2 separate regions of the Homo sapiens genome follow, and region 1 is linked to region 2. Evidence: promoter capture Hi-C in human tissues and cell types (Jung and others, 2019). All regions are on one chromosome and are shown on one strand. The core of a region is centred on a gene start or on the middle of the fragment in contact, and the rest is flanking DNA. Distances in the headings are between cores, read along the strand shown. Region 1 has its middle 100 kb from the start of GRIK1. Region 2 holds the start of CLDN8 (claudin 8).

Evidence for each region. The method cuts DNA at HindIII sites, captures the fragments that hold promoters and counts their contacts. A contact is called where the count stands out against the background at its distance.
Region 1: a fragment that was not itself captured here is called in contact with the fragment with the promoter of CLDN8 in region 2 in 4 of the 25 tissues and cell types used here (heart left ventricle, liver, mesendoderm cells and 1 more).

What each region holds. Positions count from the first base shown.
Region 1 is chr21:30,042,850-30,046,798 of GRCh38, reverse strand. No RefSeq gene overlaps it. Among named protein-coding and RNA genes, the nearest start is that of GRIK1, 100 kb to the right of the region's middle. The HindIII fragment of the contact is 6,828 bases long and covers 1-3,949 here.
Region 2 is chr21:30,214,100-30,218,108 of GRCh38, reverse strand. It overlaps CLDN8 (claudin 8), which reads left to right and starts at 2,012. Exons shown (of 1, transcript NM_199328.3): 1 at 2,012-4,009. The coding sequence starts at 2,184. The coding sequence ends at 2,861. The HindIII fragment of the contact is 13,225 bases long and covers 615-4,009 here.

The DNA of each region.
Region 1 (3,949 bases), core at 589-3,088, 170 kb after region 2:
CTTTGGGGCTATTTTGCTCTTTTGTTAATTAATTTCAGAAATGGTGAATGTATTTTAAAAATGCCTCCAAAGATGTAGAGACTTGAAAATATGGTCTAGGTCTAGATATTTGTCAAACAAACCACGTGTCACACTATGAATTAAGCAGTACCCTGAATAGAATAAATGCCATATGTGTTTCAAACAGCTGGACATAAAATATCTGCAGACTTCATAATTGGTTTTTGTGTTTTGGCTTGATGCAGAGAATTTGCCAACCTGCAATAGCAGGATGATCAGCTACCAAGGAGACCACTTTGATTCTCCCTACCCCTCCAGATGCTGCTAGGAAAACTCAAATGGGAAGCACAGATGACTGAAAAATAACAGATGTGGAACAGGTCTTTCGGATGCTCAGTAAAAAAAATATGTGGTAAAACAAATATGTACTCTTTCTTCACTTTTTTCCTACATATTCAAAAAACTATAAGTCAATATTATTCACAAAGCAGTTAAATGTTTCTTATTTTTCCGTTTAGAAATGTATATAAAGACATAAGTAGTCTTTAATAGTTTTATTAAAACTATCAATTCCATTGCCCCAAAGTGATATTACATTTTTCAAAAAGACTTACAAAAACAAAATGTCCAAAGGCAATCTATCAAATGATAGTGATTTCTAACTCACTCAGCCATAGATAATTTTCACCTTTCACTCATTGGCTCTATTTAGGAAAATGATCTTCTTTATTAACATACTAGCTGGTTGCTCAAGAAGCATCAATGATAGTGATTAAAATAGCTGTTTTAGAAAGCTACCATCCAATCGTTATGGACCAAGATAAAGGCATAAAATGAAAGGAAAAGACACCCAAAATTACATCTAATAAGCAAAATTTTAATATTACATTTGCTTTGCAGGATAATCTTGCAAGATGATGATATAGCTCTTTGCTCCTAGTAGTTAGAGAGTTATCAAATAGTCATAGATTCTGGTATTATCAGAATCCATTCAAAATTAAGGGATAGTGGCTTCCACCAAAATTCTTTGGGTGTAATATAAAAGCTACGAAGGCAATTCTGTGCCAGAGTTTACTTCTACTCTGCAATATTCGCTAAAAAAAAAAAATAGGCATTCTTCTTCTATAATCAATCCTGGTTATCTTCAAATTAGAATATTGCCTGATTTGACATTTATAATGTTTGTTCTCTTACCAGGCAGGCCAGGAAAATTCTCATAAAGTCAGAAAAATACATAGAGTTTCTAAGATGACTGAAGAGTACATGTCTCATCCTTTCAATACTCACTTCCCTACTCCATTTCTTACCCCCTCACATCAGGCTACATTTATAGAAAAACAAAACTATTTTAATCATCTCTAGTTGGATTAAGGTTTGCTCATCTACTTTCTAGTAGTAGCTGTATACTGTAATATTTTACATAATAAAAACAATGTGTCCATTTTTTTCTGCCATCTTAATTCCAGCAAATCAAATCTTTTCTTAATATGTTATCTACCTGTTATTCTGACAAAACTCAGGTATTGTTATTTATCATCTCTGTACAGTCATCTCAAGCATTCACCTATTTGAATTTTTTTTTCAGTTTTATTTTTTTCTAGTTTAATGATGATGATGATGATGATGATTTTTAATAGAGAGGGGATCTCACCATGTTGCCCAGTCTGGTCTCGAGCTCCTGGTCTCAAGTGATCCTCATGCCTTGGCCTCTCAAAATGCTGGATTAGGTATGAGCCACCACTCCCGGCCTAAGCTTTGTTTTTTTAAAAGTTTTACTTGCTTCATTTAGTTTGGAAATGATCGAATAGGCATATGAGATATTCCAGGTGCTTCGCCTTCTTTTCAGGAGTCATGTCTGCTAGCAGTCCAAAGCCTTCCCTGAGAAAGCAGGTGGAATTGTCATGGATAAAACACTGGTCTATCTCAATCTCTTCCTTTTCACCTTCTGATTTCTAGAACATATAAATCTTCAATGTTTCCAAGAAATTAACTACATTTATAAGTATATATGTATCTTCTTGGTTTTAGTGGAGGACTCTGGGATAGATCTGTCCTCAAAGTCCACTGTGGAAAACAAACAATATGAAAAAAGTGGGAAATTAGAATATCACAGAAAGAAAGCCATTTGAGTGCCCTCTTGTGGAATAAAGCAGCACTGCAGCTATTGAAATTAGTGACTTAGTACTCTTAGGTTAAAATATTATTGGGAAAGTAAACAAAGAATGCTGAGACAAAAGAGAGAGGGAAAACAAGAAGGATGGGGGATGTTTATTTTAGGCAACTACTGAAAAATAGCAAGAAGGTTTGCAACTTCTATAATGGTCAATTTAAGGAAAAGGGGCAAAAAAGCATACTGGTTTATAATAAACACTATAAACTACATTATTTGCACTTTACTTCAAGATTATGATGTCACATAAGCCTTTGGCTACTGGTTCAAAAATTAGTTTACTCCTGATTAACCACTGTCAATAATAAATAAGGCTGGAGAGTATTTTCCTTTGTAAATTAGTGGTGATGGCCATTTCTATGGAAATGGAAAAATAATGAAGCTCTCCCTGCAGTGTGAATTGTCAAGCATATATATGAAATGCAGCTTACATAACAAAATGTAACTGCTAATAGAGAAGTCAAAATAAAGGTGAATTTAAGACAACTGGGAGTTTGTCTTGTTCCCAAGAAGACCATGCCATTTTTGGATATTACTAGGAAAGGTAAGGATAGTTGGTATGAGCTCAATGAATAACGTAAAAAATAAGAAACTAAAGCTATTATGGCATCACAGTGGAAATATGTATAGATTCCAAGAACCACTGAACCCTAATTAATGAAGCAGCTATGCTTATTCGATTAAGTGAGCTGAATATGGTCAATGAAAAGCGATAAATACAAGGAACTAAAGAGTTGGTAGACATACAAGGAACTCCAAAAATCCACTGCATAAAAGCAAAAAGGTCACTATAAAACTTTATCAAAATCAAGTATTTGGGAGCTGTGGAAATTATCCAAATGTTTGCAACACTATGAGCAGCTTTATTCAAGAAAAACAGCTTAATGTTATAAATAACAATGAGCTCTGTGAGGTTTGCACTTGCTCTATTCCTCTTTTCCTAATTCCATGAAAGCCCTAAAAACCAGAATCCTCACAATCATGGTAGCTAGGAAAAATAACAGTAACAGGGTGAGTGCGAGTTAGAATGAGCTTGAAGCTCCCAAAAGCCCTATCTCCAGAAAATCAACACTATTTTCACGCTTTTTGCAAAGGTTGCATTCATGGAGTTGGTCTATACTTGACCTGAGCTTGTTCAGTGAGAAAAGTTTTATCTGAGGGAATTTGTTTAAAAAAAAAATCCATCAGCAATTGCTTAACATTGCAGCTGCCTAATGCAGTGATGCCAACTGGGCAAAGAGGCTGGACAAAGATTCTCTGTATTCCTGGAAATCTCAAAGCCCATGCACAGGTGCCCAGGAAATCATGTGCATTAATCTCCCACCTCTGGCTGATCTTGAGGCTCTGAACAAGTAGAAAGTAAAAATCAAGATAAAATTGAAAACTGATAAAGATGAAAATGTGTTCAAACACACTGTCAGCATATTGGTGCCTCAGCAATGGGTAGTAAACAGATTGGTTCAAGGCATTTGGAAAAATTCTATCTAATAAAATTATCTGACCTCTATGCTGAGCAGAGACCTCAGGGGCTGCACATGACAAGGAATACAGACTTTATAGAATTAGTCCTGGAAAATGACTAAACAAACAAGCAGCAACAACAGACAACCTTGGGTAGGGAGAAAAATTCGATTTCTAGTGTTATCATTTTATAATATTAAAAATGTTCAGCTTTTAACATGATAAAAACTTGTATGTGACTGGCGAAAAAACCCCAGGAAACTATAGTCCATAAATGAGTTTTAAAAAACAGATAATAGAAACTAACTTGAAGAAGTC
Region 2 (4,009 bases), core at 763-3,262:
CTCTCTGCTTCATCGGGCTACCTTAAATCCAAATATGGGAGAAAATGTTTTCTGCTCACTTCTTAAACTTTGAAAGTTTAAAATCTCAACTTTTAAAATCTTATTTTCCCAAGATTAATCTAAGTCTCCCTCCACCACAAATCTGTAACTGATAGAAACTTGATGAAGAAAATGTCATATATTTTCTTTTCTTTTTTTTTTTTTTTTTTGAGACAGAGTCTTGCTCTGTCACCCAGGCTGGAGTGCAGTGGCGCGATCTCGGCTCACTGCAAGATCTGCCTCCTGGGTTCATGCCATTCTCCTGCCTCAGCCTCCCGAGTAGCTGGGACTGCAGGCGCCCGCCACCATGCCAGGCTAATTTTTTGTATTTTTAGTAGAGACGGGGTTTCACCGTGTTAGCCAGGATGGTCTCGATCTCTTGACCTCTTGATCTGCCCGTCTCGGCCTCCCAAAGTGCTGGGATTACAGGCGTGAGCCACCGCCCCGGCCAAATGCTGCATATTTTCTGCATCAGCCTAAGGGACACCCTGAAGTTTGGCACCTCACAGGTCAACAAATGAGAATATTTCTGTAAATATTAAGTTTTAACTTTTTATAAGGTTTATAACGTCTGTTTAACAAAATTATAACAACTCATACTACTGTGCGTCTGTCCTGCCTCTTTTTTAGAAGACAGTCTACTTGATCCTCCTTTTGCCCTTTCTACCATATAGTTTTTGTTTTAATAATATCCACAAATGACTCAGATTTTTTGAACCATGAAACTCTCAAAGTTTAATCAGTGAGCAGAAACGATTTTCTCCCATATTTGGATTTAAGGTAGTCCAATGAAACAGAGAGAAAGTAAAACTGTAAAGAGAAAATCATTTTTTATGATGTTAAGAAGAAAAGAAAATGAAGTGGCAGCTTAAACTTTGGAAAGATCAGACAGAGAGCTTAAGGTGATCTCCAGAAGAAAATTGCTAGTCGAATTTTCTCAGATAAACATTTATGCTTAGTATAGCACTACTGTTAGAGCATCATTATTTTGAGAAGAAAGTTCAAATTGTCTTGCGTTTAGGGGTTTCTATGTCCTACTGCAGACATAATATTAAAAGGTAGGAAAACATATTTGGTTAATACCTAATATAATACAGTTTGGTAAATATAGTTCCCTTGTCTTGTAAATATCTTATTTTGAAATATCAGCCATTTGTATAGGCCCAAGGGTCTTGTGTCATCTTCAGAATTCTAGTTCCTTCAGCCCAGGAATTCAAAGCAGCAAGAATAACACCACAAAATAAGCTCATAAGCTTATTTTAATGCTATAGTGCTGGATACATAAGATAATCATCTGGTGATTTTTATTTTGGCAAAAAATGTTTTTATAAGTGAAGATTATCAGAAAAGTGTCAATGAGTATTTTTTCTGGCTTAAAGAACTCCAATATGTTTTCAGTGCCAAGGAGAAGGACAGCCTTGTGTATTTAATTACTTTAGCTTATTTTGTCCTCTGGCATGATCTGTTCCCTGATTTCACCACAGTAGAGCTTGCTTTGAAGTTGTAGAAAAATTAAATCAATCACTTGGATCACATGTGTCCCAAAGAATGTGGCTTCCCAGGTAAAAGCAATCTTTCAATCCCCTACTCTCGTTTCACTTTGGCATTTCAACAGCGTTGCAGAATTCTTCGGCAGATAATTTATTTTATCCCTTGGTCCCAGCAGCTCTTATTAAGAGTTTCAGAATTGCCTGTACAAGGTGCACCTTTCACATTACAAGGGATCGGCTCATTTCTTGATGCTTATGCAACCACTTATAACTATGCCTACAGGTAAACATACTGCTGTCTTCTTGGAAGACCGAGAAGTATAAAGAATGTTTATGTGCAGGTCTAGCTGTTCCAAGTACCCAAGTGTTGGTTTAGACACACCTGGATTACCATCCACCTTTTATTGGCTGAGAAAGTTGCCACACCTGATTTGTAAGTTTACCTGTTGCAGCCAATAGCAGGGCCATCTCAGCCAGCCAGCACTGGATACTATCTGGCCAGAAGTAGCAAAGCAGCTCTTATTTGAAAAACCACTGGGTTCCGAGTTCATTACTACAGGAAAAACTGTTCTCTTCTGTGGCACAGAGAACCCTGCTTCAAAGCAGAAGTAGCAGTTCCGGAGTCCAGCTGGCTAAAACTCATCCCAGAGGATAATGGCAACCCATGCCTTAGAAATCGCTGGGCTGTTTCTTGGTGGTGTTGGAATGGTGGGCACAGTGGCTGTCACTGTCATGCCTCAGTGGAGAGTGTCGGCCTTCATTGAAAACAACATCGTGGTTTTTGAAAACTTCTGGGAAGGACTGTGGATGAATTGCGTGAGGCAGGCTAACATCAGGATGCAGTGCAAAATCTATGATTCCCTGCTGGCTCTTTCTCCGGACCTACAGGCAGCCAGAGGACTGATGTGTGCTGCTTCCGTGATGTCCTTCTTGGCTTTCATGATGGCCATCCTTGGCATGAAATGCACCAGGTGCACGGGGGACAATGAGAAGGTGAAGGCTCACATTCTGCTGACGGCTGGAATCATCTTCATCATCACGGGCATGGTGGTGCTCATCCCTGTGAGCTGGGTTGCCAATGCCATCATCAGAGATTTCTATAACTCAATAGTGAATGTTGCCCAAAAACGTGAGCTTGGAGAAGCTCTCTACTTAGGATGGACCACGGCACTGGTGCTGATTGTTGGAGGAGCTCTGTTCTGCTGCGTTTTTTGTTGCAACGAAAAGAGCAGTAGCTACAGATACTCGATACCTTCCCATCGCACAACCCAAAAAAGTTATCACACCGGAAAGAAGTCACCGAGCGTCTACTCCAGAAGTCAGTATGTGTAGTTGTGTATGTTTTTTTAACTTTACTATAAAGCCATGCAAATGACAAAAATCTATATTACTTTCTCAAAATGGACCCCAAAGAAACTTTGATTTACTGTTCTTAACTGCCTAATCTTAATTACAGGAACTGTGCATCAGCTATTTATGATTCTATAAGCTATTTCAGCAGAATGAGATATTAAACCCAATGCTTTGATTGTTCTAGAAAGTATAGTAATTTGTTTTCTAAGGTGGTTCAAGCATCTACTCTTTTTATCATTTACTTCAAAATGACATTGCTAAAGACTGCATTATTTTACTACTGTAATTTCTCCACGACATAGCATTATGTACATAGATGAGTGTAACATTTATATCTCACATAGAGACATGCTTATATGGTTTTATTTAAAATGAAATGCCAGTCCATTACACTGAATAAATAGAACTCAACTATTGCTTTTCAGGGAAATCATGGATAGGGTTGAAGAAGGTTACTATTAATTGTTTAAAAACAGCTTAGGGATTAATGTCCTCCATTTATAATGAAGATTAAAATGAAGGCTTTAATCAGCATTGTAAAGGAAATTGAATGGCTTTCTGATATGCTGTTTTTTAGCCTAGGAGTTAGAAATCCTAACTTCTTTATCCTCTTCTCCCAGAGGCTTTTTTTTTCTTGTGTATTAAATTAACATTTTTAAAAAGCAGATATTTTGTCAAGGGGCTTTGCATTCAAACTGCTTTTCCAGGGCTATACTCAGAAGAAAGATAAAAGTGTGATCTAAGAAAAAGTGATGGTTTTAGGAAAGTGAAAATATTTTTGTTTTTGTATTTGAAGAAGAATGATGCATTTTGACAAGAAATCATATATGTATGGATATATTTTAATAAGTATTTGAGTACAGACTTTGAGGTTTCATCAATATAAATAAAAGAGCAGAAAAATATGTCTTGGTTTTCATTTGCTTACCAAAAAAACAACAACAAAAAAAGTTGTCCTTTGAGAACTTCACCTGCTCCTATGTGGGTACCTGAGTCAAAATTGTCATTTTTGTTCTGTGAAAAATAAATTTCCTTCTTGTACCATTTCTGTTTAGTTTTACTAAAATCTGTAAATACTGTATTTTTCTGTTTATTCCAAATTTGATGAAACTGACAATCCAATTTGA